Regions from separate parts of the Homo sapiens genome. Here all the other regions are linked to region 1. The links are contacts of gene promoters, found by promoter capture Hi-C in blood cells and fetal thymus (Javierre and others, 2016). All regions are on one chromosome and are shown on one strand. Each heading gives the region's core, a stretch centred on a gene start or on the middle of the fragment in contact. The rest is flanking DNA. Distances are from core to core; before and after follow the strand shown. Region 1 holds the start of SLC48A1 (solute carrier family 48 member 1). Region 2 has its middle 54 kb from the start of PCED1B. Region 3 has its middle 35 kb from the start of PCED1B. Region 4 holds the start of ZNF641 (zinc finger protein 641).

Region 1 (6,548 bases), core at 1-2,500:
GGCAACCCTGATGTCCCCTTGATTTTAGCCCAGTGAGACCATTATTTGGATTCCTGACCTACAGAACTGTAAAATAATAATAAGTTTGTGTTATTTTAAATCAGTAAATTTGTGGTAATTTGTTACGGCAGCACACACACAAAAAAAACTAATGCAAGGGGTATTGGTTATGTTTTGTGCAGGTATATGATGGGCCTCCCCATGTGGATCCTTAGTGCTGTGGCAGAGCCCTTGTTATTGTGCTGGGATTTTCCCTCCAGCTCCCGGCCGGAAGCTGGGCTCACGTGGGAGCTCAGTGCCCTCCTGCTACAGATCTGTCTCTTCCTTACAATGGTATGATCCCGAGGGTCAGGGTGAGGGGTTTGGGAGGATAAGGCTTGTGCTGATAAAAGGAAAGGTGAGGTCCGTTGCAGTGGCTCAAGCCTGTAATTCCAGCGCTTTGGGAGGCCGAGGTGGGAAGACAGCTTGAGGCCAGGAGTTGGGGACCAGCCTGGGCAATATAGCGAGACCCTATCTCTACAAAAAATAAATAACAAAAAATACTAGCCAGGCGTGGTGGCACACACCTGTAGTCCTGGCTGCTTGGAAGGCTGAGGTGAGAGCATTGCTTGAATCCAGGTGTTGGAGGATGCGGAGCTATGATGGCGCCACTGTACTCCTGCCCGGGCAACAGAGTGAGACTCTGTTTAAAAAAAAAAAAGTAGGGATTTGTGGGGAGCTGTGCGTGAGGATAGAATGTATAGAATGTTTGCAGTCAGAAGGTGATGGTCGCAGGGGTTCCCAGACTTTAGTGTGTGGAGAAATCCTCTGCGATATGGTGGGAGGGAACCTGGTTGATAGAAGGACGGGCGGAAGGAATTCTATTCACAGCGTACTCTAATATTTCTTAAGTTTTACCTATTAATTTTTAACAAGAAATTTTAATTTTAATTTTAAACGAAAATACGCATCGTACTCAGAGGTAAAGATTTTTAATCCTCGCGGTTCGCTCGTATAAAGGCATATTTCCGGTCCCTTCCAAGGTCCAACAATCCGGACACGGCGGGTCTGGGGATGGGCCCAGGAATCCGCCTTTTTAGCAGCATTCCCCCAAACGACACGGCAGCTTCGCAAAGCGGCGGTGGCGTCTGCGGTTCCGGGCGCGGGCGGCCTCCGGCCGGGGAGGGCGCTGTGCGGGCGGCGCTGGGGGCGGGCCGGGGGCGGAGCGCGGGGCGCCGGCTGCTCTGGCGGCTCCCGCGGCTCCGGCTGGCGGCTTCGGGCCCTGCACCTGTGACTCTCGGCCGCGCTCGCCCTCGGCCCGCCCGGCGCCGCAGCCCCATGGCCCCGTCCAGGCTGCAGCTCGGCCTCCGCGCCGCCTACTCCGGCATCAGCTCCGTGGCCGGCTTCTCCATCTTCCTCGTCTGGACGGTGGTCTACCGACAGCCGGGGACCGCGGCCATGGGAGGGCTCGCAGGTACCCCGGGACGCTGGGCGGCGCGGGGCGGGTGCGCGGCTGCGGGGCGGGCGCCGTCAGCTGCTCCAGGACGCTCCCCGCGAGCGGCGCTTCCCCGCGGAGCGGGTGGAGTGTTTACTCGAAAACAGCGGTTGGCGGCGGCAGGCCCCACGCGGGCCCGGGCTCCTGGGCATTCCTGGGTGCCTCTGAGACCCGATGCCCGCCCGGGCGCCACCTGGGGGTGCCGACGGCCCGCCACTGCCGGCTGCACAGACCTGCCGCGCCGCCCGGGTTATCTGTCACGGCACACTGCCTGTCGCCCTCCGCCCAGTTGCCCCACGACAGTGTCCCCTCCGCGCGCCCGCGGCGCTGGTCGCCTCCTATCCCCAAACACACACACACACACACACGCACACACACACGGTTGTTCTGAGGGATCCCCTGCCCCCCAGGCGCCCCTTCCCTGGGTGCTGGGTGAGGGCAGAGAGGGAAGAAGTGGGAAAGGAAGAGGGCTAGGGGTGGCTGGGGAAGCCCATCTCCCTCCTTCCAGAGGGCTCCCCCGCAGAGCCCTCTGCTGAGACCCACAGGGAGGACGGCGTTAGGGATCTCATAGAAACTGGACATTCTCTTTCCACCCATGTTGGTGCCTTTTTGCTACCCGTCTGCTGTGGCTCCTCAGCCAAGCTCTGCCAAATCCTGCAGGCCAGCCGCCCTTTCTGTGCTTCTGGGAGGGAAGGGGAAGCATCGGTGCGCTGATGGGGGCTCTGGGCTGACCAGTGCTCCTTGTTGTGCACATTTGGGCTCGCAGTTTAACCTCTCTGCGCCATAGAATTGGTATGAAGATGAAAAATATTATCTCTACTTTCTAACATTTTAAAAAATGCTTTCTATGTGTCAGGCACTATGTTAAGCAACCTGCTTCCCTTATTTCATTTAATCCTTACATTAGTCTCATGAAGTAGGCCTTACGATTATGTCCATTTTACAGATAAGGAAACTGAGGCCTGAAGTTAAATAAATTGCTTACCCGGGATTACACAGCTACATGAAATAATATGTGTGGGAAAGGACTTTGGGAAGAAAATACGTATAATACTTTTACATATGATGATTATATTCCATTACTAAAATCCTCGGCCAAAAGAACCCTAAATGGAATAACTAAAAATAACTAATTTACTCACTGCCACAGGGAGTGCTGAGTGCCATCCCTGGGTAGAGTCGCAGCATGAGGTGGGGTTAATGCCTTAGAAGAGGGGCATACAGGGCCCCACCCTACACAATGCCAACAAAGCACTGGGTCACCAAGAAGGGGGGATGGGCACCCTGGCTAGGGTGTTCTCTGCCTGCCCAGCTGCCTCACCACCTGTGGGATCCTGAGGACAACTGGCCCATCTCTGCGCGTTATCTACAGAGCCCTAGTTCCTTTCCCCACTGCACCCCGCCACCCTCCATGTTTGTCAAGGTTCACTTCTCCCTGCCACTTTTTTGTTTCCTATTGGCCCTGTTGCTTTCCCCTCTGGAAGGCGGCGTCAGAGCCCTATGATTGCATTGCGAAGACCGAAGGCAAGAGAAGGATGAGCAGGGAGGGCCAGCCTGGGATCTCAGCTGGTTGTGTTGAGTCTGGCCTGGTACAAGTGGAGGTGAACCCTACCTGGCCGTTTGACCCTATCCTGGGCCACAGTTTCCTCATCTATTAGGAGTGGGAGGAGATGTCCCCAAAAGACATCTGACTTCCCTCCAGATCTGAAATCTTGCAGTGCTGCCCACTCCCTGAGTCTCCAGCTGCCTCCTAGAGGGCTGTGGAAAAGGCCTTCTTTCTTATACTCTAGGGAGTTGCCTGGGGTTTTCTTCCGACCCAACTCTGCCCTCTCTCCCTCCCCACAGGCTTCCCTTGGCCTATGAGGCAGGCCAGCTGTGGAGCTGCCTTCAGAGAGAGGCGCTAGGGCAGCAGCTCGCTAGGGCAGCAGCTCGCTAGGGCAGCAGCCAGCTGGAGTAGGGTCCTGGTATCTCCCTGATGGTCTGATCTTTGACAGTGGCTGTGGAAGAGCCAAAACTGCTTGGTAGTGGTGGTGGTGGATGGTGGCAGGGAGAGGGGTTGCCAAGCCTGGGCCTCCGACCTTCCCCACCATGAGTGAGTTCTCAGAGGGTCTGTGGCCAGTCAACCTTCTTCCTCTTTTGGGGGTAAAGTGTCAGCAGATTAACTAACGTGTGAGCACCCTACTTCTGACTCAGCGTTTTATAGCTCAGAATCTGCTGAGTCACCCAAGGGTAGCCCCAGCATGCTCCTTCTCCTGTGTTGGACCAGGCAAGGACTGATTGGATGTGCCAGTTTCTGGAGCAGAGTCATGGAGCCCCTGGGTCTGGTGGGCAGAGTGTTCACGGGTGGGGATACCCTCTCCCATCCTGATGGGTACCTTCGAAGAAGTGGCTTTGGAGAAAGGCAGTGGCAGAAGCAAGACTGGCTTTCCTGGGGAGGCGGGCAGGTGTGGGTTGGATCTACCTGGTCTGGCTTTGCTGTGGGAGTCCTGGGGGAAAACACAAACTCTTGCTCTGGGTTTAGTAGACCAAGGAAAGAGAAAAAGAAAAGTTGCTCCTGAAGTCTAAACAGCTCTATGTTTTTCCCAGGTGAGCTGTGAGCAAGAGCCCTGGGGCTCCAGGACTGTCTTCCTCCTAGGAAGGAATAGAGGGGCCTGACCTAGGCCCAGTGTCCTTCTTGTCTGCATTTACCCTGTGGGATCCCCCGGGTGTCTCCTGTCTCCTCACCTCCAGCCCAGCCACTGGGGATGCTTTCACCGCCCTACCCTATGCCTTCCTTACCCTTAGCTTATCGGCTGTGAGCCAATAAGCTCACATGGCTAAGCAGGGGCTCTGCTCCTTGAAACAGGTAGGATGGAGCAACGGTGTGGTCTGGTGTGGGCTTGCAGCCAGGTGGGATTGGGGACCTGTCCATTCCACCCCGAGTTTTATAAACCAGGCTTCCTAGAGTCCCCAAGTGTGCCAGGGAAGGGTATTAGGGAGATACATTGCCTCCTGCCTGATGTGTGGGAGGGGACCAGTGAGGGGCTCCATCTCCTTCAGTGACCCCCTTGGGTAGGGCTGGTGGAGAGCTCCCTTCCCAGGAGGGTGGTGGGAGCCAGGGCGTGGGCAGCAGGCCTGCCTCCACACTTGATGTGTGTTTATCTGGAGGGGAGGCCTCTGTGCAGGGCCTGGAGCAAGGTTGAGGGAAGGTGAGAGGTGGGTAAACCATGCCTGTTGTTAACAAAGAACAGGGCCCAAAACGCCCCCAAATGGCTGTCTTCCTCTCCCTCCTGCCCTCAGCCCTCTTTGGTATGTGCATGTACATGGGGGTGGGAGTTTTGGGGAACCACTGGATCGTGGCCAGTGGACTAAGAGATGGCATCTTCACAGGCCCCTATTTCAGCATTTCCTAACCCAGAAACTGCTGAGTCACAGAGGAATTGTTCTGACCTTATTTTTCTCCCAAGCTGGCTTCTAGAATCTTTGAGTGGGAAAGGATCTTAGAGCTCAACTTCCCCAACCCCTCTGTGGCACGAGGAGACAGAGGGCGAGGGGACCTGTTCCAGACAGGTGCCCATCAGACTGCTCCTTGAGTGTGCTCAGTGACAACACCCCTTGTTCCCAGGGCCCTTTATAAACCAAACAGCTCCCTCAAATGAAAACATGGGACACATGTGAGGAGTGGGAGGGACTTCTGTGAAAGGTGGCTGGTATAAAAATCCAGATCTTGTAGGAGGTAAGAGGAAGCTGCAGGATGATTGTCCTGTCCACCTCTGGCCCACTCCAGCATCCAGACTAGGTGGGGAGGAACAGATGCTTGTCCTGGCCCACCCTGATCTCAGTAGGAGGGGGACCCACATTCCAGGCCCCCACCCCCTGAGGAAGAGTGGAGGTGGGCAGGGGCAAAGCTGGGAGAGTGTTCAGGGGGTCAAACGGTGGCAGGGGCTGAGGGAAGCTGTAGGCTTGGTAGGCCTTCACCCTCACTAGGGTAGAACCCTGGGCCCAGTTACCTAAACTGGCAGGACCCCTGGGCCCACCCATTTTTAGATGTGGAAACACCAAGGCTTTGGGACACAGCAGTGCCAGGCTCCTGGTTTCTTGGCTTGGAGTCTCATGGGTTTTTGTTCCTCACTGGACTGTCTGGGGACAGCCAAACTGGGACAGCCTCTGAGCTGGTAACCAGAGCATAGCTCCACAGTGACAAGCTTCCTCCTGCCTTTTTCCCCCTTAAACAAATTATGAAATATTTTAGGCACACAAAAAAGGATAGATGATTTAACAAACACCCTTATAACCCAGCCTGAGAAAACAGCGTAGATAAAATAGCATAGATTTCCCACCCAGCCTAAGAAACAAAATAGCATAGATTCCCATAGATTCAAAGCACTTCCCCACCCCCACCGCCCCATCAACTTCCCTTCCTTGTCTCCATTGCCAGAGATAACCACTTTCCCCAACCAGATGCTTATCCTTCCTGTGCACATTTGGTAACTACTCTGAGTGGCATGTGTGCAGCTGCCTTTTGGAAAGGCCTCCTGACTCCTAGGATGCAGCGGCCTGAGTGGCCCACACCTTGCAACCCAACCAGCTGAGAGCCTGCAGCTGGCTCTGCCTCCTTCCTCATTTGTCCCTTGCCGGGATCCACCGCCCTGCCCGGACCCTTGCCAATGGAGTTGATATTTGTTCCACTCTTTGGGCTGCACCAGCAGGCACTGCCTGGCACAGAGGGTTGTTTTGTATTGTATTGGCTGGGTGGCAGCTGGCATCCTAGAGGAAGTGTCCACCCAGGCGCAGAGGCCAGGCCCAGGAAAAGCTGGGGGCAGTGGGGGTGGGGAGCGGTGCAGGTGGTGATGGCCTGCCCTTTGCCGCAAAATGGAGGGAGTGGCATGAGGTCTGGCCAAGAACAATAAGGCCACTCAGGGGTTGGGTGGCCCTGGAGTCTTCATGGCTGGACCTCCTCATCCTGCAAAACCAACTCAGGCAGTTTGGGAAGAGCCCTGCAGGCCTTGTGACTTTGAGACTGTGGCCTCTGAGGGCTGGGTGGAGGAGGAGCATGGGGCAGGAGCATGGCTTCCCTGCTCTGTGGCCCTCAGGG
Region 2 (6,548 bases), core at 2,591-5,090, 750 kb before region 1:
GTGACAAAAAATACTTTATAACCATGTCAGGAAAACATGCATTGTACCTACTACTCTACAAAGTCTAGCCAAGAGCAGAACTGACATGCATTGTCTTATTTGCCATAGGTAAATCAACAGGAAAGCGAAGTATAAACAGTTAACTCAGACTAGTATATTACCCAGGGTTTTATACTGGTTGATCTGCCATTATTCCAGAGGCAAGACTACAAATCACTTGGATAACATGATCCTGCAATGTCAAGGTAGGTAAATAACTTGTGAGAGTTTTTAAATGATGCCATCACCACTGCAGAAGAGTATATTTACTCCTTCTGCTTTCCTTAAAATGGCTAGCATTAGGCTCTTTATTCAGAAATTTTTATATTATAACATACCTTATCTTATATCATTATCTTCTCCCAACAATCTATTAGGCCAACGTGCTAGATCAGTGATGTTACTTTAAGGCCCTCTCAATCTTTTTTAAAAGTTGTAAACAGACCACTGTGCCACGTAAAGATTAAAGTGTAAAGACTGAGACTTCAAGAATAAATTTTAATGCTGTGATCATATAATATATAAATTTTGCCAAACTACTTTTTGAGCTGCATGCTAATTAAATACAATGCTTAACAACCACTGATACACACACACACACACACACACACACACACACACACACACATAGAACTACTTTTACATAGCTAAACCAAGAAATGGGAAAGCTTGTTACTTTGTTTCTAGATTCCTGGATTCATAATTCAAGGGCATTGTGATAGATCTCCTTTGTTGTTCTTCCTATATCCACCCCTCCCTCCCCAAGCCAATGGAACCTTAAGTTCGTTCAGGTGGCTGCTGAGATCTTTCCCTCTGTCGAGTATTTATGGATGGGTTTAAACCAATCGTGATTCATCCCAGGGCCAGGGATAAATTATGATTGGTCTAAACCAGCCTTAGTAATCTTAGTAATCTTGTAACTTTGTCTGGGAATGAAGTGACAAATTTTGGTCAATGAGATGAAAGCAGAAGTTTTTGAATGAGCCTCCAGGGCTTGTCTTTCTGATTAACACAGATAACATAGAAAAGAACTTTTGTCTTTCTGATTAACATTGATAAACTTACAGAAGACAGCCTTTGCCTTTCTCTTCTCTTCTGCCTGCAATGAAGACATAGTCCCTGGAGGCACAGCAGACATTTGTGACCATAAGATGACAAGCCTGAGGACAAAAGTCAACTTTTATTTTTTGAGACGGAGTCTCATCCTGTGGCCCAGGCTGGAATACAGTGGCATGATCTCGGCTCACTGCAACCACATCCCCGGTTCAAGGGATTCTCATGTCTTAGCTTCCCTAGTAGCTGGGACTACAGGCATGCACCACCATGCCCAGCTAATTTTTGTAATTTTAATAGAGACGGGGTATCACCATGTTGGCCAGGCTGATCTCGAACTCCTGACCTCAGGCGATCTGCCCACCTGCACTTCCCAAAGTGCCAGGATTACAGGCGTGAGCCATCTCACCTGGACAAAAGTCAATTTTCTAAGGATGATGCAACAGGATGATAGGTCTCTGACAGCATCGCTGAGTTCATTGAATAGCTGTATCAGGACGTTTCTTACCTTTGGATTCCTTGCAATGTGACAAAAAGTTTTATTTATATAAGCTATTGTTTGTAGGGGTTTCTGTTACTTGCAGCCTCATGTATTAGGTTGAACCATATGATATGTTGTAAACAAAAATAGTTGAAGCTTAGCAGATTTCTATGATTCAACCAATTTTATGAATTGATGCTGAATTCAAGACCCTTTCACTTCTCCAGCAATCAAAACCTCTCCTTTTCCTCTCTCCTGCCACCTGATACCACACAAAATAGATCTTTATATATATATATTTCTGACATTTAATCAATGATGTGCTGGTAAACTAGTTTGTTAGGAGGAAAAGCCCTGATTTGTACTGTATTTATGGTATAACTACTCCCACTATGTCTCATTTTAAGCTTCCAGCTTGAGGTCACTGAAAAAGGAGTTGGAAAGAAATGCTCGCAATCAGCTCTTCTGAGCTGCTACTACAGCCAGCTCCAGCATGCCACTGCCCACGCATTGGCCAAAGCTCTGTTACAGTGTATGATGGTCAGAGCTAATGTTAGAAAGTAATTTATTATCCTTACTATTATTCTCTTTGTAGCATTGAGACAAAGATACAAGAAAAATATAATATATCCAATAATTATATGATATATATGCTAAGTACATATTATGTACACATAAAATAATTATAAAATACAATAATTATATCATATAATTAGGATATGGGGAAATTGACAAGATAAATGTAGATCTTTGCCCTCTGATTCATTTAGATCTAGTAAAAAAAACTAAAGAAAATGTGTCAGAGTAGCCACCAAGGAGACATAAAATAGTATGAATTTTTACCAACAAAATAACTTATAATTTTGATATAATTATAATTCTACATTATGGCTTTATTATAATTTATAAGAATATATAATTTTACCAACAAATTAATTAATATGAATTTTTACCAACTAGCTCTTCTATTGCCTAACTTTTATCAGTTATCTCTAATGGGTAAGAAAGAAAACCAAGATATCCTTCACTGGTTATTCATTTTTTGAAAAAGCTGTATTCTGTTGCAGTTAAAGAAGATGAAGCATTTGACTTCCATTTGGGACAGTGACCTTTATAAAATACCGCCCTCCCTCCCCCAAACCCTCAGCCCCCAAACTCATTTTCTCTAGCTGTTGAATGCCAAAAATCCATTTAGTTTTCAAACATTGCCTTTTTTCTATTAGTTTTAGGTAGCTGGTCCAAGAAATGATTGAGATTCTTCCCAGTTTAAACTTAAGATGCTTGAATGTACTGCCAGTACCAAATGAAGGTCTCTGCATTCTTCATCACCCTGTGCCCAGTCTCCGTCTTTTATCATCTTCTTTTAACAATCTTAGTAATCCCAAATAAAGTGAAATGGAACATATTAATAGTTACTCTTGGGGAATTTTTTTTGGACTGGAGTTGATATATAACTGTGGCTGGATTATCAACATGGACTATCCTGTCTGGAGAGACAACTCAATATTAATAATGCAGATTCGAGCATTCAATGATCCTATACTTTGTCAAGCCAGAAAACTGTGAACCAACCTAGATCTGTCCTCTCACTCAACCTCCAAGTCTAATCAGTCAATAGAAAAAATAACAAATATATACTGAGCACTTACTGTATGGCAAGCAGAGAGTTAAATGCTCTTCACCTATTATTTTATATAATCTCCACAATCATCCACTGTGTTGTGTTACTACACCCATTTTATAGATGACAAAACTGAGATACAAATAAGCTAAGCAACTCATCCAAAGTCATGGCACTGCGGTAGAGCCTGCAAAATTTGAACCCCAGCAGCCTATCTTCAGGGCATACCATGTTTACTATGTTAGCAGAATTATAATAGATTCTCCTGCTTAATTACTTCTCAAATAAGTTTGTCCCTTCCTCAATATACCTACTGACTTAACAGTAGTTAGAATCATCGTGAGACCTTGCCTGGATTTACTGTGATAGTCTCCTAACTGAACTCCTTGTCTCTGGTCTTTTCCCCACTCTAATGCATCCTCTACCTAGATGACAGAGTGCTTTTGCCAAACTATAGACCTGATTAAGCTCCTCACTGTAGCCTTCAGGATAAAGCTGAAACGTCATCTCTTAATAACCCTGACTCTGTGCGTAGTGGACCCTGCCTTCCTTTGTCCCCATTTCCCTGCACATCTCGACAGGGCAGCCCTACTAAACAGCCTGAATTTTCCCAAACATATCATCTTCTCACAGCAACAGCTTCCTTCGGACATACCTTGCTTTCTGCCCAAAATGTGCTGACTCCGTTTTTTTCTTCTATGTGGCTAATTTCTAGCAGTCCTGCAAATCCCTAGTGAAGGAGCATCTCTCAGCCCTCTACTATTGATCACAGTATGCTGGCCATGGTCCTCATCATAGCTGTCCTCAAAGAGCTCTCAGTTCAGGAGGCAGACAAGTAAACCAATAATCCAAACAAGTGGGCAACAGCTGTTATCAAGCCACAGATCTTAATATTCTATAAAGCGTAATCTTATAGCATTCACAAAGAAAAACATCATTATTTAAATTGTTATGTTTTAGACATGAAAAACACTTTGACTAGTCAAAAAGTTTTAGGCAGGCCAGGCGCAGTGGCTCATGCCTGTAAACCCAGCACTTTGGGAGGCAGAGGCAGGTGGATCACCTGAGGTCAGGAGTTTGAGACCAGCCTAGCCAACATGGTGAAACCCCGCCTCTACTAAAACTACAGAAATTAGCCGGGCATGGTGTCACACACCTGTAGTTCCAGCTATTTGGGAGGCTGAGGCAGGAGAATCACTTGAACCCAGGAGGCAGAGGCAAAGATTACAGTGAACTGACACCATGCCGCTGCACTCCAGCGTGGGCAACAGAGTGAAACTCTGTCAAACAACAGCAACAACAACAAAGTCTTAGGCCTTGGCTGCTCTGTCTATGGAGTAGCCATCCTTTTGTTTCTTTACTTCTCTAATAAACTTGCTCTTACTTTACCTATGGACTCGCCCCAAATTCTTTCTTGCATGAGCTCCAAGAAGCCTCTCTTGGGGTCTGGATCAGGACCGCTTTCCAGTAACATCTTCCTGGCAAACCACAGAGGGACTATACGGAAGAGACCCAAACCCAAAGGAAAATTATCTGCTCAGCACCACTTGCCTGACTTTGCGTAAGTGGTAGAGTACATTTTATCCTGGGTAAAGGACGGAACAAGGCTAGAGACCCAACTTAGGACATTTAGAGTTCTTCCTAAGATTTAGGGGGTTAGGGACCTCCCTTGGTAAAGTCCCTGTTGGTTAAAAATGGATTTGGCACTACAGGATATTAACTGCTATTCCCTTTGGAAAAAGTTTTAGCTATGATGCGTGTTTCTAGATGTATCTGTGCTATTCTCTTCATTTGGAGTATGGTAAAATATTCTTACAGCAGACATAATTTTAAGGAAAATGTATTTCCCTCAGCACTTGTAACTTTTTGTTTATTTATTTATTGGATGTTCTTGCTTTAATTTCTTTAAAAAGCAAAAGGTACGAAAATAGCCATAAAAACGATATCAAAGGGCACTTTATTTTTTGAAATGAACTAAGTGCTACATGTTACTCTACTTCATGAGTTATTGAGATTTAATCCTGGACGTGAAGTAGGGTGTGGAGAGTGATTGACTGTAGTAGAAGAAGCAATACACTTCATGGGTTGGCAGTGCTGGAATAAGATTATCTACAATTAAATGAGAAGTAAGATAGTCCAAACTGGAAACAGTGTGTGAGGTTAATCTGCATTCCTAGGTTAGACTCTGACAGATTATGAGGCTCCCCCACTTAATGCCCCTCACACTTCTCTCTCTCAATACTCATTTTGATATTTAATCTTTTGTGCAGCCAATCAATTGATTAGTAATTTGCTTGTGTACATTAAAGGCCAGGAGAAAGAAGTTGCACTATACCAAAACCATGTCCCACTTTAAAAGGTACCTAGATATAGATTGTCCAAAACATTTTTACTTAAAGTATGCTCAGGAAGTGTTGAGTAAGAGACAATATAATTGACCAACGTATGGGCATTCTTTGGAAGCCAAGGAGAGAAGAAAGCAGACGGTAACAAACGGATAAGAACCATAAGCTTTCCCCTACTATAGAAAGTCAGAAATACAGGGAGGCTGAGGCAGGAGAATTGCTTGAACCCTAGAAGCGGAGTTTGCAGTGAGCCGAGATCTTGCCACTGGACTCCATCCTGGGTGACAGAGTGAGACTCCATCTCAAAAAAAAAAAAAAGAAAGAAAGAAAGTCAGAAATGCAAATATTTATGAAGTAATGTAGAAGTTGCAGTTTTCAGAAAATGTTTAGTCTTAAAACCTTTTGCAAGACTGCAACCTTGTACATGTTTTGGCTGGATATTAGCTACTGGTACTTGAAATCTAGTCTCATCTTCCTTTGTATGCCCTCTGTATTTTAAAGACTAGACATCTAAAAACCACATTTTTTAAAGTCACTTGGAGCAAAGGTTTTAAATGTGATTTGGGTTCTGCTAATAATACGCAGTTGGCCCTTCATATCCATGGGTTCTGAATCTGTGGATTCAGCCGATTGCAGACCTAAAATAGGAAAAATAAAATTTCTCCAAGTCCAAAAGGCAAAACTTGAAATTGCCACATGCCATGTACTAGACTAAATCCATGTCAAGAAAGTAATGTTTAGATATTGCATTAGGTATTATAAGTAATCTAGATATGACTTGAAGTATATGAGAGGATGTGTGTTGGTTATATGTAAATATTATGACATTTTATATGAAGGGCTTGAGCATTCATGGATACTGGCATCCATGAGGAGTCCTGGAACCAATTGCCATGAATAGCAAGGGACAATTGTGTGTTCGTATATATCTAGAAAGTAGAATTGTGAGGAAGTCCAGCTTTGTAGCTATGAACGCTGACAAGCAAGTTTGCCAAAACATAAGTGCCTG
Region 3 (6,548 bases), core at 1,198-3,697, 730 kb before region 1:
TATAAAGAATTAATTGTCTCAATTCCAGAGAATATTGTATATAGTTGTGTATATAGTTGTGAAAAAACTGGACAGCACTTTTTTCATATTAGTTCACATTCACAAAGTTCATAACAATACAATATGACTCATAGTTGTTCATTACTAGGACCTTGAACTACAAAGAAACCCGCAGAATATTCCTTGGCAGCTCTGGCTTCATGGATATATGACTTTGCATTCATACACGAATCTTAAGCTTGGAAAATCAGCTGAGCGCAGTGGCTCACACCTGTAATTCTAGTACTTTGAGAGGCAGAGGTGGGCAAATCACCTGAGGTCCGGAGTTCAAGACCAGCCTGGCCAACATGGTGAAACCCCATCTCTACAAAAAATACAAAAATTAGCCAGGCATGATGGTGTGCGCCTATAATCATAGCTATTCAGGAGGCTGAGGTGGGAGAATCACTTGAACCTGGGAGGTGGAAGTTGCAGTGAGCCAAGATTGTGCCACTGCACTCCAGCCTGAGCAACAGAGCAAGACCCTGTCAAGAAAGAAAGAGAGAGAGAGAGAGAGAGAAAGAGAAAGAAAGAAAGAAAGAGAAAGAAAGAAAGAAAGAAAGAAAGAAAGAAAGAAAGAAAGAAAGAAAAGAAAGAAAGAAAGAAAGAAAGAAAGAAAAAAAGAAAGAAAAGAGACCCTGCAGTACGAAAACTGAACTGTGATTTATCCATATGTTATGCCCCTCTATTTCATAAATATTAAGAAAAATCATTTTGACTGTGATTAAATGTATATATACTGAGCCAAATATTTTTCTTTCAACTATTTTCCCTTCCTTCCCCCTTCTTCCTTGGATTTTTTTTCTCCTTAACATTGACTATGGTCTATATATATGTGTGTGTAGGTCTAGTACTGAGCTCTCTATGATGTTCCATTTACCTTTCCTTGTGCCATATACAATGTCTTAATTACTATAGCTTTATAATAAAGTTTGATATTTGATCATACAAGTTCCCATCTTGTTCTTTAGAACTGTCTTGGTTATTTTTGGTCCTTTGCTAGTCTATATAAATTTTAAAATCAACTTGTGATGTTGGGATTCTAGGAGTGTTAATCAATTCATGAAAATTAATGTCAATACAATATTAAATCTGACTATCCATGAATATGGTATATCTCTTCATTTGTTTAGGTTTTATTTAATGTCGTTTAATAAAGCTTTATAATTTTTACCAGATATGGGCTTACACATCTCCCACTAGATTTTTTTTCTCTTGGATAAAATATTTATTTTTATTGTAATTTAAAATAGTATAAATATTTTTAAAGTTTTTTACTTTTTAAATATTTGTTTACAGTTCATTTTTGAGGTAAATATACATACAGTAAAATAGACAAATACAAGTGCACAATTTGTTGAATTTTGACAAATGCAAACAAACGTAGAGGTAAGAATGTTTTACATAGTATAATCTTTTTAATAACATTTTTAGCTGATCATTGCTGGTGTATAAAAATGCAATTTCCTTTTTATTTTGTAGACAATTATACTACCCATAAATAATGACCAGTTTGTTTTGTTTCATTCTAACTCCTAATTCCTTTTATTTTACTTTTTTATTCACATTACTATACCATCTAGGCCATTTAGTAGAGTGTTAAACAAATGTAGTAATAATAAACATCTTTACCTATTTTATATTAAACTTAAAATTTTTCACCATTAAGTATAATATTGCTGTAGTTTTTTGATAATATTTACACGTTTAAGAAATTTTTCTTCCATTATTAGTTTGCTTAAGATTTTCTAAACCATAAACGGATATTAAATTTTATCTAATACAATGTGTCTACTTAGCTCATTATATAGCTTTCATTCTTTAATATGTTAATGGTGCAGCGGGGTGCGGTGGCTCACGCCTGTAACCCCAGCACTTTGGGAGGCTGAGGTGAGTGGATCACAAGGTCAGGAATTCAAGACCAGCCTGGCCAACATGGTGAAACTCAATCTCTACTAAAAATACAAAAATTAGCTGGGCGCAGTGGCAGGTGCCTGTAATCCCAGCTACTTGGGAGGCTGAGACAGGTGAATCACTTGAACCCAGGAGGCAGAGTTTGCTGTGAGCCCAGATCGTGCCACTGCACTCTAGTCTGGGAGACAGAGTGGGACTCCATCTGAAAAAAAAAAAAAAAAAAAGAAATATGTTAATGGGGCATGAGTTGGTTAGCCAACTGCACAGTTTGAGGTGGCATAGTCCACGCAAGACTGTCCTCACTTTTGACAGCAATTGCAAGTTTAGGGGCTTCCTAAAACCACCTTCAGGTTACCTAATCCACAAGGACTCCTGGAACTCACTAAAAGTTGTTATAATCCAGGTTAGAGTGTATTACAGGAAGGATACAGATTAAAGTCAGTCAAGGAGGGGCACCTAGAGCAGAGTCCAGGAAAAGTATCAAACATGTAGCTTCTGTTTTTCTTTCTCCATGGAGTCCTGGACACATTACTTTTCAAATATCAAAGTATAACAATGTGCACAAAATATTGCTAATGAGGAAAGCTCAGCAGAGCCAGGTGTTCAGACTTTTTATTGAGGCTCCATGATGTAGACATGGGCGATTGCCAATGTGGCTGATTTCAATCTTCAGCCTCCACCCTCTCCAGACATGACCCAAATCCCCCACGCTAAATCACATTTCTGGTCTTTCTGGTGTAGCCATTCTCCATCTTAAATCATATTTTTAGACAATCTGGTGACCCAAGGCTCACAGCCAAACAAAGACACTCCTATCAACCATGATATTCCATCAATTTACCCATCACCTCTCAGAAGCCAAGGACAAAGACCAGACTTCTTTTCGGACAAAGTTGAATTCTTTACTATGTGTGGGGTGAATAACATAATTTAACTTTCTAATATTAAATCAACTTTGTATTCCTGAAATGAATTCAACTTGATAATAAAATATTTACTTTTTTATACATTATATAATTTGGCTTTATAAGATTTTGTTTAGGATTTTTATATCTATGTTCATGAATAAGACTGGTCTGTAAGTTTTCTACTTTATGCTGTCCTTGCCTAGTTTTGCTATCAAGATTATGCTAACCTTATAAAATAAGTTTGGGGATGTTTCCTCCTCTTCTATAACCTAAAAGAGTTTTTGTAAAATTGAAATTATTATTTATTAAATATTTGGTTGAACTTGTCCTTTAGTAATTGGTAGTACATATTAAGGAAATACGCACATCAATGGACATGTTCAGGAAAAATGAGTGTTGAATTTTATCTCTTTTTTTTTTTACATATTTTAAGATTACCTTATAATTTTTTTCTTTACAATGTTAATGTCATATATTCATAGGTCTTAAATGTTGAACCATTTACTATCTTTTTGTTTTGTGTGTTGCTGGACTTGATTTGCAAATATTTTTATGAAATAATATTTATAAGTATAATTGACCTACTATTTTTATCTTGCATTACTCTTATTTTATTATCAAAATTATACTAAATGTATAAATAAACTAAATAATTTTTTTCTTTTTTTCTATAGTAGTTCGTATAAAATAAAGATTGTTTCTTAAAGATTTAGTACTGCCATAACCAATTACTACAAACTAGGTGGCTTAAAATGCTAGTAATTTATTCTCTCACACATCTGGAGGCCAGACTTCCAAAATCAAGGTGTCAGCAGGGTTAGGTTAGTTCCTTCTGGAAGCTTTAAGGGAAAAACATTCCATGCTTCTCTACTAGTTTCTAGTGTTGCTGGCATGTCTTGGAGTTTTTTGGCTTGTGGTAGCGTAGTTCCAATATCTGCCTCCAGTTTCCCATCACCTTCTTTCCTGTGTGTCCCTCTATGTCATCTCTTCTTACAAGGACAACAGTTATTGGATTTAAAATTCAACCTAAATCCAGGATGATTTCATCTTAAGATCCTTAACAAATTATATCTACAAAGACCTTACTGGCAAAAACATGACATTTTAAAGTTTGGGTGCACGTTACTTTGTATGGGATACTATTCAATCCCTTCCAATTGCCTGAAATACAAAAATATGCCAGGTATAATTCCAAAATATAAAAGAAAAACAGTCTTGCTAAGTGAGACTTTTGAATTACTTGATACTTTGTCTTGGATCTGAGGAAATGAAGTATATTTGAGGTATAATTGCTTTAAAAAGTACTCCAGTGGATAAAAGTAGGTGAGTAGAGAAGAAAGAGTGTTAACAGCCATTAGTGGTGGCTTCTGGAAAGGACAATTACTGATCAGACCATCTGTTAATTCTACCAGACAGTTTAATGTGCAAATGTAAATAAAACTAATAACATCTCCATGGAAAATTAAAAAATGCTTAACCAACATTGATTTGATATTGAGAGTCTTCGTCTGTTTTGTGTTGCTGTAACAGAATATGCAAGACTAGGTAATTTGTACAGGACAGAAATTTATTTCTCACAGTTCTGGAGGCTGGAAAGTCTAAGATTAAGGTACCAATAGGTTTGGTGTCTGAGGAGGGTCCAGTCTCCACTGCCAAGATGATGCCTTGAATGCTGCATCCTCCAGAGGGGAGAAACTCTCTTCTTTACATGACAGGAGAGCAGAAGAGAGAGAACCCACTCTTGAAAGTTATTTTGGTAGTTGCATCAATCATTCATAAAGGTAGAGTCCTCACAGCCTAAACATCTCTCATTAAGCCCCACCTCTCAACACGATTGCATTGGGGATTAAGATTCCAGTACATTAATTTGGAGGGGCCAAAACATTCAAACTAAAATATTGAATTTCTGCTAGAACTAATAACTGTGTTAGATGAATAATAGAAAGTAGATCAGTACCAATAAGCATTTCACTCAAGTCAGCCCCAACCCCTTTCAGCTGCAAATAATTTAGAGTGATTTATTGGCATGATTTAACTTTAATCAGAAATTGAGAAGTGAGTAGCTATATTGTAATATTTAATAATATATTTAAAGATATAATTATACCAACCTCCTAGATTATTGTCTCTTGTTACTATGTTTCTCTGGAAGCATTTTTCTTGGATTTCGTAAAAGGTTCTCTAGAAGAGGAAGTAGTCTAGAGAACAAACTGAAAACAATTTGCAATTGTTTAAAAGCAACATTTCACAAATTCTAGTTATAAGAACTTCCAACAAAAATCACTGTCAGAAAAAAATATATGGGCATCCTCTGGGGCCTCTATGGGATGGAGATTGTTGGAATCCTTTTCATCTCTAAGATTCTGTGAAGTCTCTGAGTTATGAAAGAGTGAGCTGAGAATCTCAGCATTCCCAGGTGAAGGGAACTAAGGCAGGTGATTTAGCAATGTGGAGGGTCATGCTTCAAGATCTTGTTGGAAACCCATATCCCAAGGAAAAAGGTGGCCCAGGTAACAATAACACAGAACAAAATAATAGAAAGATACCAGTTTTGCAGGCAGGTAGATCAGTCTTTGAATCCTAGCTCCTCCATCTCTGTGTCTCTGTTCTGTCATATACCTTAATTAAAATTCAAATGAGATAACATATGCAAAGTACCTGAACATTAGGTGCACAAAAAATGGTAGGTGGTATTAACTGTGACTAGGAAAGAGAAACAAAATTGCTGCATAAATGGCAAAAATTTTGGTCATCAATTAAAACTACTTACAGAGAATGTATATACTTTTAAGATTTATGATAATTTTTCTCATCATAAAGAGGACTGTATCAGCCTAAAATTATCATAATATGGTAGTTATTTTGCACATGTCAACATGGCAACACCCCTAGTTGTGTGCTGTTCATGAAAATACATGCTGTTCATGCTGCTTCTGAGAAATAGAGTTATTATAGGTCTTTCCCTCTCCATTTCACTTCTCAAACAAAAGAATATTTCATACATTTGTATATGTGTTTTTTTGTTTTTGTTTGTTTGTTTGTTTGTTTTGAGACAGGGTCTCCTTCTGTCGCCCCAGCTGGAGTGCAGTGGTGTAATGACAGCTCACTGCAGCTTCGACCTCCCAGGCTCAAGCGATCCTCCCACTTCAGCCTCCCAATTAGCTGGGACCATAGGCACATGCCAACATGTTCAGTTTTTTACTTTATGTAGGAACGAGGTCTCACTATGTTGCCCAAGCTGGTCTCAAACTTTTGGGCTCAAGTGATCCTCCTGCCTTGGCTTCCCAAAATGCTGGGATTAAAATCATAAGCCACTGCACCTGGCCACATTTTTATGTTAAAGAAAATATTCTTTCTTTCTTTGAAAGAAATGCCTAGGAAAAGTGTAGTGTCATTACTTTTAAAAATTATAATGTTTTCATTCATATTGAGTTATTTAGCTTTCTTGCTGCAAGACTTTATTGAAACAATATGATATTGGTGCCTGATTTTTCAAATAGTTCTGTTGCTTTACATACTTTAAAAATATAAAAATAGCATAACATTTGGTGAGTTGAACTTTAAGGGTAGTTTTCTTAAATTTCATAAATTCATACTATTGGGAGACAATTTTCCATGGGTCTCTCAACATTTCAGCACACCTGGCAGAAGCACTGATTGCCTTTTGTTTACAGCGTATCCTTTCAA
Region 4 (6,548 bases), core at 2,597-5,096, 580 kb after region 1:
GGTCCATTTAATTTTCCAAGGGTCTTATGACCCCTTGGAAAGGGATAGAATCTATTCAGTTATAAGATGAACATACCATTGATGATCATGTGAGCCAACTCATCAATGGGCTGATGCGAAAGCAATACAAAGGCAGCAGTGATGGGACCACAGGAGACGCCAAGGGAAGCAGAGCTCACCTGTGATCCAGCCGCAAGAAGTGCAGCTGCCATCTCCCAGTCTCCAGTGTTCCCCTCCTGGGGAATTGCAGGAACCCAGGGAGCAGACTGAGCTGATAAGGAGAGAGAAGAAACATTAGAGAATAACGATCTACCCTTTCTCAATGGGGCCTGGGCCCCATTTTAGAGAGGCTTAAGGGTCACAACTTCTGTATCTATGCCCATTGGTAAAACTCAAATGCATAAATGTAGATGAGAAGGCCATCACTCAAAATGTTCTGAAAGGGTATCAGATGGCTTTTAGTTAGACTAGCTATAGTTTGAATTTACAGTACTTGAATGTAATTTTCATCTAGTAAATTACATCTTACTGAGTGGGTTATCCAACAGTAATCAGGTTGCTGTCACTTCCTTCATCTCCCTCATTCAGTATCACTAATTATGCATTTGCATGTGGAGGGAGTAATTATGAAGAAACAAGAGAAGCCCAGTTGCATGGTTTGCTGAATTCAGGAGCCTATTCTGTACCTGTGACCAGGGCTGAGAAAGAATGGGCTGGTCCTGGTACAGGTTATGCTATTTAGTCCATGGCAATTTGGAGATTTTTAACCCTACTTTTGGAATAAATATTAGGAGACTATGCACTGTGCTTCCCACACACTCTGTGAGTTCTCACCCTTCTCCTGAAGGGACTGTGGCTCCTCTTCAAGGTCACAGCACAGGTGCTCCAGAGGTCCTGGTACTGTTCTCCATGGCCGCTCTTCCTGGCTTCCCCTTTCCACCTGGGGCTCTGCTCCATCCAGCTGTACATTCATTGATTCCCATCCTGTCCCCAGCGCTGCTGTCTGTTCTGAAAGCATTTCTGCTGCAGACCCAAATTGTGACCTGGAACAAATTCATATCAGCAATGCCCATGAAAATGGGAAAGGAGTGATATTTCTAAGGGAGTTATGAAGAACAGGCCCAGGGATAATAGACAAAACTAGATAGGAGGAGCTTGCTGGAAGATGAACTTTAAAAGCTTGATGTGTTCCGATCAACGGAGCCTGCACCAAGCTTCTTGGAGGAACTAAGAAATTGGCAGGTGCTACGTAGCAAAGCCACTAACTGGTATTTTGTGGACCTCATTATAGAAACAGAATATACCTGAAGGTTAGAAGAAGTTCATTTAAAAAAAAAGAACTGTCCTGGAAATTCAAAGGCTATCCATTTAATTTCAAGCACATGAAGTACAGGAAAGTAAGCAATTTGGAAACATACAGGAAGAAATACATATAGACCTGCACTCAACAAGATGGATGTAATCACACAGAAGATTTTCTGCCACAAATCACAGTCTCATCAGTTTAGAATGAAATGATTACTATAGGTAAAAGTCCCAACCAAGGGGCGTATTTGTATCATGAGGCTGGGCCAAAAGGTACCTCACTTGGGACAAGCCTCAATAAAAAGGCACTTGGTCTACCATCCAATGAAAACTGGTAGTAAATATGGTAGAAAAACTGATAACTTGGAAAGCAGGTGTTAAGACTCCAAAGTAATCCTAAGAGGTAAGAGAAATTGTTGGTCTGTGAGGAGCTGAAGTTTAATCAGGAAAAGTAAAAAGGAACAGAAAGAGTTTGAACCAGAGCTGGAAAAGGGGGGAAGAACTGCTGCTAACATGACCCAGAAGAACAAACCTGTTTATTTGTCAGGCACCAGTCAGATCTCATTAGAAAAATATATTCAGTTTGAAAGAAGCGTATGGTGAAGCCAGTGTGTGTTCATCAGAAAACATCAAAGTCAAGAAAGGGATTGGAAATACAGCCACTGGGAAAGTTAAAAATGTCGGATGTAGTTTTCTCTGTCTGGAGAAGAAGGCTGATGAATGATGCTACTAATGAATAAAAACAGAGGTCCCTTCTATCTCTATATAGGTCAAACAGAAAAAAATGGGTCTTGATTGCAAGAGAAGAGATTTAGGTTATTTTTTTTTAATTCTTAATAATCCTGCAGTGTACAATACCAGATAGTGGGCTCTTCTTTTTCTTTAGACAACTTAAGAGCAGGATGGGTCACACTTCTGTTGTGATAGGGCTTTATGGCAGAGAAATAATCTGAGACTCAGAATCTCTTTCTGTTTGGCAACATATTTTGGGTATTCTTATTCAATATCCAAACAGTCAGAGTCAGTGAAAGGCTTCCAAGAGCAGTCAGAAACTTGGTAACTATCCTGGCTTACTTACATCCTTTCAATAACACTTGCAAGAACCTTGAAGGCCAGGGTAGGTAATCACAGATGTCAAGTCGTCTATTTTCTTGCCTATTTGTCTTTGACAAAAGAGGTAGGTGGGAACCCTAAGCCCAATGCACAGGAAAAACAAATTCCCTTTTTATCTCAGAAGTCCAAAGATGGCTCAGGGCCTCATGGGAGCACCCTGGACTGATTCCCAGCCTAGGAGGTTTCCTTTTCAGAGACTTTTCATGAGAAAGGAAAATTCTTGCTAAAGCAATAAAGGGAAACTTCCATTTTAGCTCTCTTCTCTGAATTCCAGCTCTGTATCCACTTTTAACACACAGGGCACTAATTCTCCCTCTTCGTCCCATCTTTCTGGTTCTCTAGCTCCTGTGCAAATCCTCCCTGAAGGCTTTACCTCTAGCTACATATCTGGACACTTGTCTCAAACCCTTTCTCCATCTCCCCCAGGTAGCAGAGTCTCTTAATGGGAAGCCTCTTTGTGCAGAGCCCATTGGGCCAGCTGTAAGTTTTTCTATACCACTGACAGAAATCCGTGGAAGTGCTAGCAAAAATCTCAGCAAAGGATGGGATGGGTACCTGTCCTCAGCTTGCATTTCCTAAGATATTCACGCAGAGCCAGCACCTGGGCGGTTAAGGTGGTAGCCCTAACCTCGTTTCTCCTGGTTCCAGGATGATCCCATGCCCACTGCAGTGTGGGTTCTAGGGCTTTCATTTCCCCCTTTTCTTCACACATATGGGTAGCAAGGGACCTGCAAAAGGAAGTTTCTGCAGCCAGTGCTGATGAACAGAAAAGGGGCCATGTTATAAAAATGAGTAGCCCAAGGGCACACGGACGAGTTGGCTCCGTCCATCAGAGAACCCTGGCCCCTGCCACGGGTAGGGCATGGGCGGGACGGGAGCCTGCTCAGGGGTAAGGTTGCTTCTTCCCTTCTTCTTGTCACAGTGCCCCTGGAAAGGGTCAGATTTCAGAGAATCCGAGCAAGGCAGAACTGGAGCAGGGGAAGTGAGGTCAGAAAACAGGTTTCCCATGAGCTGGGGCATGAGCAAGTGAAGAGAAAGGGAGCCACGGGGTAACCTGTGCGCGAGTGACAGCGGCGGGAGCCCGCAGGGCCTGACAGTTGCGATGGGCACGGGGAGACAGGGCGAGAGGCGGGCACAGAATGTCAGCGGGGCAGACCCCCGGGAAAGGCAGCAACCCGGAAGACGCGCCGATCCTCCTCCCAGCCCCTATGGGTGACCGAGCCCCCACCAGCCGCCCCGGGAAGCCAGGCGTCCCTCCCTCCAGCCGCAGCTCCCTCCGGCCCGGCTCCACTCACCCCCGGTAGGCTTGGCCCGCGGCCCGGTGCCTCCCTCCCGGGCGCCGCCTGCCCCTCCCCTCCGCCCTCCGCTTGCGTCTGGGAGCCGGCGGCCGGCGGAGCCAGCGACAGGCGGAGACGGCGGCCCGGCAGGCGCGGGCGGGGCGGGGCGGGCACAGGAAATCCCCGCCCGCTTCCGGGGCTCTGCGGCGGCGGAGGTGCGGGGAGTGGGAGGGAGAGGAGTGGGAGGGAGAGGAGTGGGAGGGAGGGAGGGAGGGAGGGACGGGAGGGGGCGGGGCTGCGGCTCAGGCGCCCCCAAACGCGAACCCGGGACCTCCGCGCCCGCCGCTGTGGGGAGGGTGCGGCCCGAGACGCTTGGAGGGCGGCGGGCGCCGGAATCGCAGCCTGCTGTGGCCACTTGCCCGCACTCTTGCCTGACTGACCATTTTCCGCTCTGGCTACTGGGCCTCCCACGGAGTTCTGTCCTCAGGGTTCGTCAATTACCTGGAATTGCGTAACCGCCCGTTACAGGCCAGACCGAGGCCGAGAGCGATTTCTCCAGACAACAGTCTGGAATTCCTCAAGGAGCGTACCCTCTAGTTTTCACGATAGGATAAAGGGCTTGAGAGAGCACTGAGGAGGAGTCACTTATTCTGCCTGAGGGGAAGTCAGGTTGCTATCTGAAGTTGGCCTTGCGGCTGCTGTCCCATTTGCGGGAGCCGTAGCCGCAGGTGACACCTGAGCTCTCGAAATGTGGCTGGTCTGAATAGAGATGTGTTCCAAGATTTAGAAGATTTAATTTAAAAAGTGATATTTTGGGTATATTGGGTTAAATATATTAAAATTAATTTCACCTGGTTTTAACTTTTTAAATGTGGCTATAAATATGGCTTGCATTATATTTCTATTGGATAGTGCTACCTTGCAGCATTAAGATGGATTTGACTAGAAAAGATGAGAAGGGCCTACAAACAGTGAGTAAACCCATTGCTGTTAGAATCTGTTTATAACCTACAAGTCACATTCACATTCCTTATTTCATCATTACAACAATTTTCAAAAATTTTATTTAGTAGACTTAAAAAATAATTGACTCACTTAAGGTCATATGTGACAATCATTCGTTTAATGCATATTTATTTTCTACGTGTGCCAGACACTGTAACTAAATGCTGGGAGTTAAAGGATTCACAGTCTGGGGAAGCACATGTCAACAAATATTTGCAATAAAAACGTAGATTCTAAAACAGAGGAACGTACGCTGCACTTGAAGCAAAGAGAAGTGACCACGTATGGGACGGAGGTCAGAGAAGGCCCCCCACTCTGACAGAAATCGTGAGGCAGAGAAGAGTCAGGAGGGCTGTCTAATGAAAGAGGAAAATGCAGTAGACACGCAGTTGGGAAGAGTATAGAGCATATTCTAGGAGCAGATCATGGGATATGTCGGGGTAGTAGTAGAGCCAGAATTTTTATCCCGGGTCCTGGAACTAAGTCCAGGGGTTCTTTTCACTTATGCTACCACTGGTGGTAAATATAAGGTGCGTTAATTGGAGTAGGCTAGCAAAACCAGTATCTCGGGGCTTAACTCCATAAAGGCTTATGTTCATACAAGTCACAGTGTGGTAACAAGTTGGTTGGGGCCAGAGGGTGGGGTCTGTACTTCTTGAATTCATTGAAGGACCAGGCTTCTTGCATTTGGTGGTTCTCCCATGCCGAGGCCTTGGTAATGTAGTCAAATCTGTGGCCCTCAGATAAGGGAGGCTGGCCGTGGTTAACTTGTCAGAGATATTAGGGGCCAGTCCTGGAAGTGGTGTGTATCATTTTCACCCCATTCCCTTAGCCAGAACTCATGCGCATGGTCACATGGCCCTACCCAGAAGGGTGGCTGGGAAGTAAAGAATGTGTGCCTCATGGAAAAGGAAATGGGCGCTGCTGGACACAGCATTGCCTCGTCACACAGAGTTAAATTGAACATAACCAAGTACGTAAACCTGACTTTACCTGAAAAGAATGTTTGGAAAGAACTGATAGATATTATAATAGCCCAAACTCTCCTCGACTGTTTTGGGAAACAAATCAGTGTGAGATTGTTTCCAAAAAATAAAAAAAGCCAGGTGCAGTGTCTCATGCCTGTAATCCCAGCACTTTGGGAGGTAGAGGCGGGCGGATCACAAGGTCAGGAGTTCAAAACCAGCCTGGCCAACATAGTGAAACCCTGTCTCTAGCTGGGCATGGTGGTGCGTGCCTGTAGTCCCAGCTACTTGGGAGGCTGAGGCAGGAGAATCGCTTGAAACCAGGAGGTGGAAGTTGCAGTGAGCAGAGATCGTGCCACTAATACTCCAGCTTGGGCAACAGAATGAGACTTCGTCTCAAAAAAAAAAAAAAAAAAAGAGGCTGAATGGTATCATCTTCTTTATACCAGAACCTTTTCTTTTTAAAAATAACTTTTATAATTTTAAATTTGTGTAGTTACATAATAGGTGAATATCTTTATGGGGTACATGAGATATTTTGATGCAGGTATGCAATGCATGATAATCACATCATGGGAATCAGGTATCCATCCCCTCAAGCATTTATCCTTTGTGTTACAAACAATCCAATTATACCCTTTTAGTTACTTTAAAATGTACAGTTATTATTGACTATAATAACTATTAAATACTAGGTCTATTAAATACTAGGTTGTTCTATTAAATACTAGGTCTTATTCATGCATTCAAACTATTTTTTGTACCCATTAACCATCCTCACTGTCCCCATTCCCCCATTACCCTTCCCAGCCTCTGGTAACCATCCTTCTACTCTCTATCTCCATGGGTTGAATTGTTTTGATTTTTAGATCCTCCAAATAAG

The links. Contacts are between HindIII fragments. The CHiCAGO score rates a contact against its expected background, and 5 or more counts as called.
Region 2: a contact is called between a fragment that was not itself captured here and the fragment with the promoter of SLC48A1 in region 1, in 1 of 17 cell types (naive B cells). The highest score is 5.0, in naive B cells.
Region 3: a fragment that was not itself captured here is called in contact with the fragment with the promoter of SLC48A1 in region 1 in 1 of 17 cell types (total B cells); the score reaches 5.2 in total B cells.
Region 4: a contact is called between the fragment with the promoter of ZNF641 here and the fragment with the promoter of SLC48A1 in region 1, in 5 of 17 cell types (neutrophils, M0 macrophages, fetal thymus and 2 more). The highest score is 7.7, in neutrophils.

The regions. Positions count from the first base shown.
Region 1 is chr12:47,771,988-47,778,535 of GRCh38, forward strand. It overlaps SLC48A1 (solute carrier family 48 member 1), which reads left to right and starts at 1,251. Exons shown (of 3, transcript NM_017842.3): 1 at 1,251-1,453. The coding sequence starts at 1,318. RefSeq lists a silencer at 1,117-1,726 and enhancers at 1,472-1,978, 1,979-2,483. The HindIII fragment of the contact is 7,379 bases long and covers 1-5,656 here.
Region 2 is chr12:47,022,624-47,029,171 of GRCh38, forward strand. No RefSeq gene overlaps it. Among named protein-coding and RNA genes, the nearest start is that of PCED1B, 54 kb to the right of the region's middle. The HindIII fragment of the contact is 3,725 bases long and covers 1,979-5,703 here.
Region 3 is chr12:47,041,329-47,047,876 of GRCh38, forward strand. No RefSeq gene overlaps it. Among named protein-coding and RNA genes, the nearest start is that of PCED1B, 35 kb to the right of the region's middle. The HindIII fragment of the contact is 2,502 bases long and covers 1,197-3,698 here.
Region 4 is chr12:48,347,073-48,353,620 of GRCh38, forward strand. ZNF641 (zinc finger protein 641) reads right to left here and starts at 3,847. Exons shown (of 6, transcript NM_001172681.2): 1 at 3,714-3,847; 2 at 835-1,043; 3 at 180-271. The coding sequence starts at 1,018. RefSeq lists enhancers at 3,358-3,427, 3,866-4,602 and silencers at 3,568-3,997, 4,278-4,357. The HindIII fragment of the contact is 6,093 bases long and covers 1,213-6,548 here.